2 separate regions of the Homo sapiens genome follow, and region 2 is linked to region 1. The links are contacts of gene promoters, found by promoter capture Hi-C in blood cells and fetal thymus (Javierre and others, 2016). All regions are on one chromosome and are shown on one strand. Each heading gives the region's core, a stretch centred on a gene start or on the middle of the fragment in contact. The rest is flanking DNA. Distances are from core to core; before and after follow the strand shown. Region 1 holds the start of KLHL22 (kelch like family member 22). Region 2 overlaps ZDHHC8 (zDHHC palmitoyltransferase 8).

Region 1 (4,180 bases), core at 184-2,683:
CTCACTGCAACCTCTGCCTCCCGGGTTCAAGCGATTCTCCTGCCTCAGGCTCCCGAGTAGCTGGGACTACAGGTGCGCGCCACCACGACCGGCTAGTTTTTTTGTGTGTGTTTTGGTAGAGATGGGGTTTCACCATGTTGGCCAGGATGGTTTCCATCTCCTGACCTCGTGATCCGCCCGTCTCGGCCTCCCAAAGTGTTGGGATTACAGGCGCCAGCCACCAAGCCCGGCCCCACCTTTCTTTTTAACCATGAGCCATCTCCAGCCACATCCTCCCCCTACCACTCTCTCCACCCTTCACAGTCCCTCTCAAAACCACAGTGTGGGACACTCCAACCTTATCCCATCAGGAGGCTCTGTGGCTCCAAGCTCTGGGCGCAGCCATTACGGATACGCCTCGGAGGATGGGACCTGCTCGAAGGTGAGGTGGAGAACAATGAATGCCAAGACCCGCGCACGGACCTCTGGGACCAGGCTTTAAGACTGGGAATTAGATTTACTGCAAAATCTCAGTAAAGGAACGGGCACACAAACTAGCACCTGTTCACTCTGGCGGTGTTAAGCGATTCTCCCCGATATCCCGCAGGGGGCGCGCTACGGTCAGCGGCACCGACCGCGGAGGGAGCGGGGAAGGAGCAGGCCGCGGGAGGGAGGGAATGAGCGCGTGACGAAGGGAACAAGTGGAGGAGAGGAGGAAAGAAGGGAATCAAAGAGGGAGGGAGGCAATGGGAGAAGAGGAGAGGGAGGGAGGGAAAGAAGGGGGGAAATGAGACAGGGAGGGAAGGAATGAGAGAGGGAGGAGAGAACGAGAGTTAAGGAGGGAGGGAAAGGGAATGAGAGAGGGAGGGGATGAGAGGGGGAGACAGGGAGGGAGTGAATGAGTGAGGGAGGAAGGGAATGGTGGGTAAGATAGGAAGGGAAGGAATGAGAGAGTGAAGGAGGGAGGGAATGAGAGGGGGGGAGTAAGAGAGGAGAGAAGAGAGTGAAGAAGGGAATGAGGAAAGGAGAGGGAGGATATGAGCGGGGAGGGAGATAGTGAGGAAGGGCAGGAGGAAGTGAGTCGAGGAATGAGGGTAGGACCGAGGCAAGGAAAGAGTCAATGGATTCAGACGGGGCGACTCTCGGCAAATTCGCTCATTCGTTGGTTCGGCCCCGCCAAGTGCCAGGTGCCGCGCTAGTGCGGGGACTCACTGAGCCTTGGCGATCGCTGCTGTCCTCCGCAGAGCGCCGGAGTGGAGCCGCCCCCTGTCTCCCCGCCCCAGGGCCGCCCCCGCGCTGCTACCCGGCCAGGCCGGGAACCCCCGGGCCTACGTCTGGCCCGCCCGGCGCCTGCGCGGCGCACCCACGTGACGGCCCAGGCCCCCGCCCCGCCGGCTCCTCTCGCCCAGCCTCCCGCCTCGCGCCTCCCGCCTCCCGCCTCCCGCCTCCCTCCAGCTGCGAGTGCGGCCTCGGCTGGCGGCGGCACCAGGTCAGCTGCGAGGCGTGAGCCGAACGGGCCGGGCGGCAGCGAACGCGGGGGTCGGGCGGCAAGCAGGCATCGCTGGGCCGGGGACAAGCTAGCGGCGCGGAGTCCGAGGGGCGCGGGGGCGGGCGCGGGCCGGAGGCTCGGGGGCGGCGACCTGAGGAGAGCCCGCGGCCTGACGTGGCGGGGACGCGGCCGGCGGGATCCCCGGGCGCGGGCGCGTAGGGGCCGGGATCTGGCGCTCGGCCAGGGGCCAGGGTGCGAGGCCTCCTCAGCGCGGCTGCTGGCGCGCCGGCCTCCTGGCACCCGGGCGGGCCCTGTTGCCTGCGGCAGGTCCGAATGCGGCCTTCCTGGCCGCGACCCTCCGCGCTGGAGCGGGCGGCCTTGCAACAGGCGGGCGATTTGGGGCCGGCCTGACGAGCCTCAGTTCCCTCGATCGGGCCCGGGGACTGCAGCCGTAGGAGCCCAGCCTTGCCAGCTCTCCCGGTTTCCTGAGAGGAGCCGGAGATCGCGCTGTCAGTGCAAAATCACCAGAGCGCGAAGCGTCGGCTGCCAGTTCTGACCATTTTAGATCCGGTGCGGGCCGAGCCGAGTGGATCTGGGGCGGGCAGCGGGGCACCGCCACCTTCCGCCTGGGCTCCTCACTGGGCGCCCTCGCTCCGGCCCTCCGCGGGGCCGAGTGCCTCCAAGACGGCTCCCTGGGAGATTCTTCCAGAGCGCACCCTTTGGAAGGCTGCCCCGCTGGGAATCAGCACCCACTCCCTCTCCTCTACCGCAGCCGCCCCCTTTGCCTTTGTGGCCGACCTTGCTTCATGCTGCCAAGGATTGAGTTTCTTTGAGGGGATACTGCTCGTTCGGGGGCCCTACAGAAGGCTGAGGGTATCTACTCAGTAAAATCGTACCGAACTGAAAGTTCCTCTGAAATGATTTTGACTCTGCCATCCATCACTTCATAAAAATTCATCTTGTATCCTTCAGTTTGTAGCTATGTGGCACATTAAGCTTCCTTTCTTCTCCCCACTGAAACTTCGAACAGTACAAAACGGGGAACTTGGCTTGTGATGACTAAAATTGGGGATATGAGACTGGGGGCGGGCGCGGTGGCTCATGCCTGTAATCCCAGCACTTTGGGAGGCCAAGGCTGGCAGATCACCTGAGGTCAGGAGAGACTAGCCTGGCCAACATGGTGAAACCCCGTCTCTACTAAAAATACAAAAATTAGCTGGGTGTGGTGACACGTGCTTGTAATCCCAGCTACTCGGGAGGCTGAGGTAGGAGAATCGCTTGAACCCAGGAGATGAAGGCTGCAGTGAGCCAAGACCCTACCACTGCACTCTAGCCTACACCATATAGTGAAACCTCTTCTCTACAAAGAAAATTTGAAAAATTAGCCGGGCGCAGTGGTGAGCTCCTGTTGTTCCAGCTTCTGAGGAAGCTGAGGTGGGAGGATCACTTGAACCTGGGAGCTTGAGACTGCAGTGAACCCCAAGCTGTCTCACCCCAGATAGCCAGGACTACAGGTGTACACCACCATGCCTAGTTAATTTTTAAATTTTTTGTAGAGAAAGGGTCGCGCTATATTGCCCAAGGTGGTCTTGAACTCCACCTACCTGGACCTCCCAAGGCACTGGGATTACAGGCATGAGCCACCATGCCCAGCCTACTTTGCACTTTTTTTTTTGGGGGGGGGGCAAAGTCTGGCTCTGTCGCCCAGGCTGGAGTGCAATGGCACAATCTTGGCTCACTGCAACCTCCACCTCCTGGGTTCAATCGATTCTCCTGCCTCAGCTTCCCCCTTCCTCAGCCTTCCCAGTAGCTGGGATAACAGGCATGCGCCACCACGCCCCACTAATTTTTGTATTTTTAGTAGAGATGGGGCTTCCTCATGTTGGCCAGGCTGGTCTTGAACTCCTGACCTCAGGTGATCCTCCCACGTTGGCCTCCCAAAGTGCTGGGATTACAGGCATGAGCCACTGTGCCCAGCCTACTTTGCACATTGTTTTTTTGTTTGTTTTTTTGTTTTTGAGACGGAGTCTCGCACTGTCATGCAGGCTGGAATGCAGTGGCGTGATTCTCCTGCCTCAGCCTCCCAAGTAGCTGGGATTATAGGCACCTACCACCATGCCCGGCTAATTTTTTTGTATTTTTAGTAGAGATGGGGTTTCACTATGTTGGCCAGGCTGGTCTTGAACTCCTGACCTCGTGATTCATCCGCCTCAGCCTCCCGAAGTGTTGGGATTACAGGCGTGAGCCACTGCGCCCGGCCACTTTGCGCATTTTGACTGTTGCCTAATGTTCTGTCAGATCACTGTGCCATGACATCTGTTCTCCTGAGGGTGGACGTTTTGGTGATTTAAAACCGTATAGATGTGGTTTTAAATGTTTTAAATGTTGCACCCTGTGCTGTGCTCCTTCCCAGCAGAGAATTGATTCATTTTTCAGCATATCCCCCTTAGCCCCTAGCTAAGTTTCTTAAATTGGACTTGGTAAATGTGCTTTGCCTGCCCATGGAAGATGTCTTTCTGTTTTACCGTACTTGTTTTTGCAGTATGGGTTTAGGGAGTAGCTGCCATTTATCCCTTCCCAAGAGAGCAGAGGCACTACTATGCTCACGGAAGGTGAGGATCCACCTGGGGGCTTGATGTCTATTGGGGTAGTTGTGGAGGTCACCCTCAGAGAAGGAGGCCCTCTTGACTCTGCGGTGGTCATGGTGGTGAT
Region 2 (3,903 bases), core at 1,259-3,758, 360 kb after region 1:
TGCGAGGCACGGCCCCTACATGCCTGCAGACTCAGACCCTTGGCCAAGGAGGCTCAGACTCACTGCTTCACCCAGTGACTCTCTCCAGGAAAGACATCAGTCCTGAGGGGAGAGGTCCCTGGGGATGGGGCTGGTCTAGGTGCACAGGGCCCAGTCACAGGCCTGCCTCTCGGGGTGGCCCAGAAGGAAGGATGGCACCCTGGGACTGTTTGGTGTTCCTGATCACTGCACAGACCGCCCCGCACTGCCCACCATTCCAGTGACCACAGAGCACTCATGCAACTCAGGGAAGAGAAATGTGCTTTCTCAAGCACGTCTCAAATTCTTCCAAAGTCTTCCCGTGGGCCTTACAGAGTGACTAATGGTGGAATTCCAGGCATCCTGGTACACAGTGCTCCTGGGGGCAGCCGCCCACCTGGCCTAGGGCAATGCTGGCCAAGGGACAGACGCCAAGCCTGGATGGCCCACGCCAGCCCCTCCCAGGACACCCTGCTCCCCTCTGTGGGTCCCAGCTCTGGGTGCACACAGACAGGGTCCTACCAGTCACACAAGGCCCTTGGTGACCCAGGCAGAGCCCTGAGGGGCATGGCCTCAGGGGATGTGGCCTCTGCTGGAGAGATGGGGCTCTGGAGGTGGGGCCTTCACGGGGTGAAGGCTGTGGGGCGAGCTCCTAGAGGCGGGCCTGGGGGACGAGGCCTGCCAGGGGGCAGGCTAGGCCTCCTTACCTGCTCGCCTGGTCCACAGAAGGGCACCTTGGGACCCGTGGGGAAAGCCGGCCTAAACTTGTACATGGCAGGTGTCGGGGGGCTGGTCCTCTGCACCGACAGGGCACTCTCTGGGGATGCAGACCACTGTCAGACTGAGGTCAGAGGAGGGTCAACCCATATCCCTCCCTAGTCGTGGCTGCCCCAACCTCACCAGCACTGCCTGGGCGCGGGGTCTGCAGGTCACTGCTGAACGTGCCAGCCTCTATCTTGGGGGGCAGTGGTGGCCCCAAGTCCAGTGGCTTCTCATCCAGCCGGTCCAGGCTGCCCTTGGACTGGGAGGGAGCGGGGTCAGTGGTGTGTGGGGCTTGGATGAGGGGCAGGGCTTCACTAGGGATTCAGCCTGGGACCTAGCCCCCTCCCAAGAATCTGTCTACGGCTCTGTCTGCCCCATCCACCTCTTCTAGGCCCCCACCAACCTGCCTGTTTCCCCATCCAAGGGCCTGACTGCCAGCCCATCCCTAAGCCCAGGCGCCCACCTTGCTACGGCCCAGGCCAGCCTTCAGCCCGTTGTCACTAAGCTTGACCTTGAGCGGTGCAGCTCGGTCCAGGAGTTCAGGCCTAAGGAAAGGCGGCTTCAAACTCACCGCGAGCGGCAGCCGGGGTGGCTCCACCACGTACCTGCACCAGGGCACAGGGGTCAGTAGCCAGCCCACCTGCCACAAACACACAAGGGCAGGGCTGGCCATACCTGGCAAGAGCCAAACGGACCAAGAGGGTCTAAGGCTGCCCGCCCCACACCCAGCAGAGGCCCCCCTCCACCCTGCCCAGGCCGGGCCTCACCGGGGCGCCAGGGGGCTACACAGCACGTGCTCCACATTCCCACAGCAGCCTCGGGTGAAAGGGTTCACACCCCCGCGGAACTTCCCAGTCACCTGTGGATGCAGGACCCTCAGCCAGCCTGGCCTCCCAAGGTCCAGGCCAGGGTGGGCAGGGGGCTGGGCAAGGGAGCTGGGGTTCCTTAGAAGCTGATACTTGCGGGAAGTGGCTTAGGTGGGATCAGCCCAGGGCTGCCCCTCACATAGGTTACCCAGCCTGAACTTGCAGGGAGCTGTGGGATTTCTGGGTCACTGGTGGCCACAGTGTCCACAGGCAGGATGTGCGCAGGGGACGGGGCAGGCGTAGCCCCACGTGGGGGTCTCAGAGTTGGAGCCTCGTCTCAACACAGCTGCACAAGCTACCTCAGGCAAGGGTGCCCCAGCCCCCACCCTGTCCCCATGCAGCCCCAACTCTCTCGGCCCTTTGGGGCCACCCATCCCCCATGGGGTCTGCACCTGCTCGTTGGTGGTGCGCCCCCGAGTGACCAGCACCACATGGAAGCCAGTGAGGCCAATGACAGGGATGAAGAAGAGGCCGGCCACACACATGACAGCCATGCTAGCCCGTTAAGGCCAACGGTGCAGGCCAGGACACCGCAGACCCCATCGCAGCAGCACAGAGCAGGTGCCTGTGGACAAACCTCCTCCCAACCTAGGGACGGCCACCTGCCCACTGGGGATCCCTGGGCAGGAACCAAGCCTTCTGAGGCTCAATCTCCCTGGTGAACGTGTCCCCGGTCCACATCGCCTCTGCAATGAGGCCCACAGGAACCAAGGATACGTGATGGTGGTGTGCGCGGCTCCCAGCCCCTCAGCGTGGTTCAGCACGTAGACCAGGCCGAAGGCCACGACGCCCACCATGTGTGCACTGAGTGACAGCAGGAACAGGAAGAAGTAGCGATAGTTTCGACGCCCGATGCAGTTGTTGACCCAGGGGCAGTGGTGGTCAAAGTCCTGGGCGGGAGCAGTGCATCAGGGCACATGGCAGGCAGGGATGTGGCACAGGGCTGGGGGAGCGCGGGGCAGCAGGGCGGTCACCTCTACACAGTTGTCACAGACGCTGCAGTGGGAGCAGCGCGGCGGGCGGTAGAAGTGGCACGTGGCACACCACTTCATGCGGACCTGGATACCTCGCACATCCACGTTCTTGTACAGCGGAGCCCGGAAGTCGTCCTCCTTGTCCTCATCCTCATCCGCTACAGACCAGGAGCCAGGCAGTGAGCAGGAAGTTGACTTTCCTGGCAGGTGAATCCCTCCCCCAAGTCCAGCCCACCCACCAGGAATCCCTAAGGCTGTCTCAAGTTAGCCACTCACACTCTAGTGAAAGTGAGAGGAGCTGCCGCAGCACAGGGCCCTACCTCGGGGGAAAACACCAGGGTCCATGAAAGTGGCCATGCTGAAGTTGGCCAGGACAAAGAGGAAGATGATGCCATTGTAGACGGGAACAGCTGGGGACACAGCTCGTGTCAACCACGGGCACCTGCAGTAGACAGTGGGGGCAGAGAGTGGAGTCTGGGGGTGCAGAGCGGATGCAGGCGCAGAGCTATGTGGTGCGGCAGGCTGGGCCTGCAAGGTCACCCTCAGAGCTCAGAGGCAGTGGGGAGGCTGCCACAGCCCTGCCAAGAAACCTCAGCCACATCGCTCCTTCGAGTAACGGCCAGAGGCTGTGCGTATCAGTACAGCATGTGGGCTACCCGTGCCCTGACCCGGCAACCTCTCAGGGCAGCCGTCTCAGAGAGGCCCACAGACCTAAGGTCACCCCATTCCAGCGACCTAGGCTCCATGACTGGGGCGGGGTAGGGGGCGGGGGCGGTACACAGGCTGGAGGTGGGAGCCCCAGATGGAAAATGCGCCACGATGCCTCATCCAGGCCTGTCCCTGGCCCAGTGGGGCCTCTCACCAGGCAGATTCTGGGGTGTGGGGAGCCCCAGTCCTTGGTCAGTAAGTGCATGGGGCATGTCTCCCCTACTCTTCCCAGTCAGGCACATCCCCATCCAGACAGCCCCTTCTTTTTAGTTTGTCACCTCCCTCCCCAGATGACAAAGTAGAACACTTAGGGACTCTAGAATGCACAACACCCCCCACCACTTCCCATCTTCCCAGCCATCAGCACTTGGCTCCAAGGCCACCCCCTCTTCCGGGAAGCTTTCCAGGACTCCAGGCTGCCCTCTGCAGCTTCCCTATAAGGTGTGCCCTCACACACCTTCCTGAAAGGCGCCTTCCTCAGCCCTTAACGGGCCTGGCCCGAGTCCCCTCTGAAGAGACTTGCCGGTCCTCGGGCCACACGGCCTGCAGCGGGTTCCTAAATCCACCCACTCAGC

What was found. Contacts are between HindIII fragments. The CHiCAGO score rates a contact against its expected background, and 5 or more counts as called.
Region 2: a contact is called between a fragment that was not itself captured here and the fragment with the promoter of KLHL22 in region 1, in 6 of 17 cell types (M0 macrophages, erythroblasts, fetal thymus and 3 more). The highest score is 6.8, in M0 macrophages.

Annotation. Positions count from the first base shown.
Region 1 is chr22:20,493,048-20,497,227 of GRCh38, reverse strand. It overlaps KLHL22 (kelch like family member 22), which reads left to right and starts at 1,433. Exons shown (of 7, transcript NM_032775.4): 1 at 1,433-1,468. It overlaps LOC101928824 (a long non-coding RNA gene), which reads right to left and starts at 1,315. Exons shown (of 4, transcript XR_007068011.1): 1 at 541-1,315. RefSeq lists an enhancer at 267-919 and a silencer at 1,114-1,773. The HindIII fragment of the contact is 9,275 bases long and covers 1-2,466 here.
Region 2 is chr22:20,138,353-20,142,255 of GRCh38, reverse strand. ZDHHC8 (zDHHC palmitoyltransferase 8) reads right to left here. Exons shown (of 11, transcript NM_013373.4): 2 at 2,941-3,062; 3 at 2,621-2,778; 4 at 2,364-2,536; 5 at 2,039-2,141; 6 at 1,548-1,639; 7 at 1,244-1,385; 8 at 919-1,039; 9 at 726-835. Among named protein-coding and RNA genes, the nearest start is that of ZDHHC8, 8.5 kb to the right of the region's middle. The HindIII fragment of the contact is 2,442 bases long and covers 1,288-3,729 here.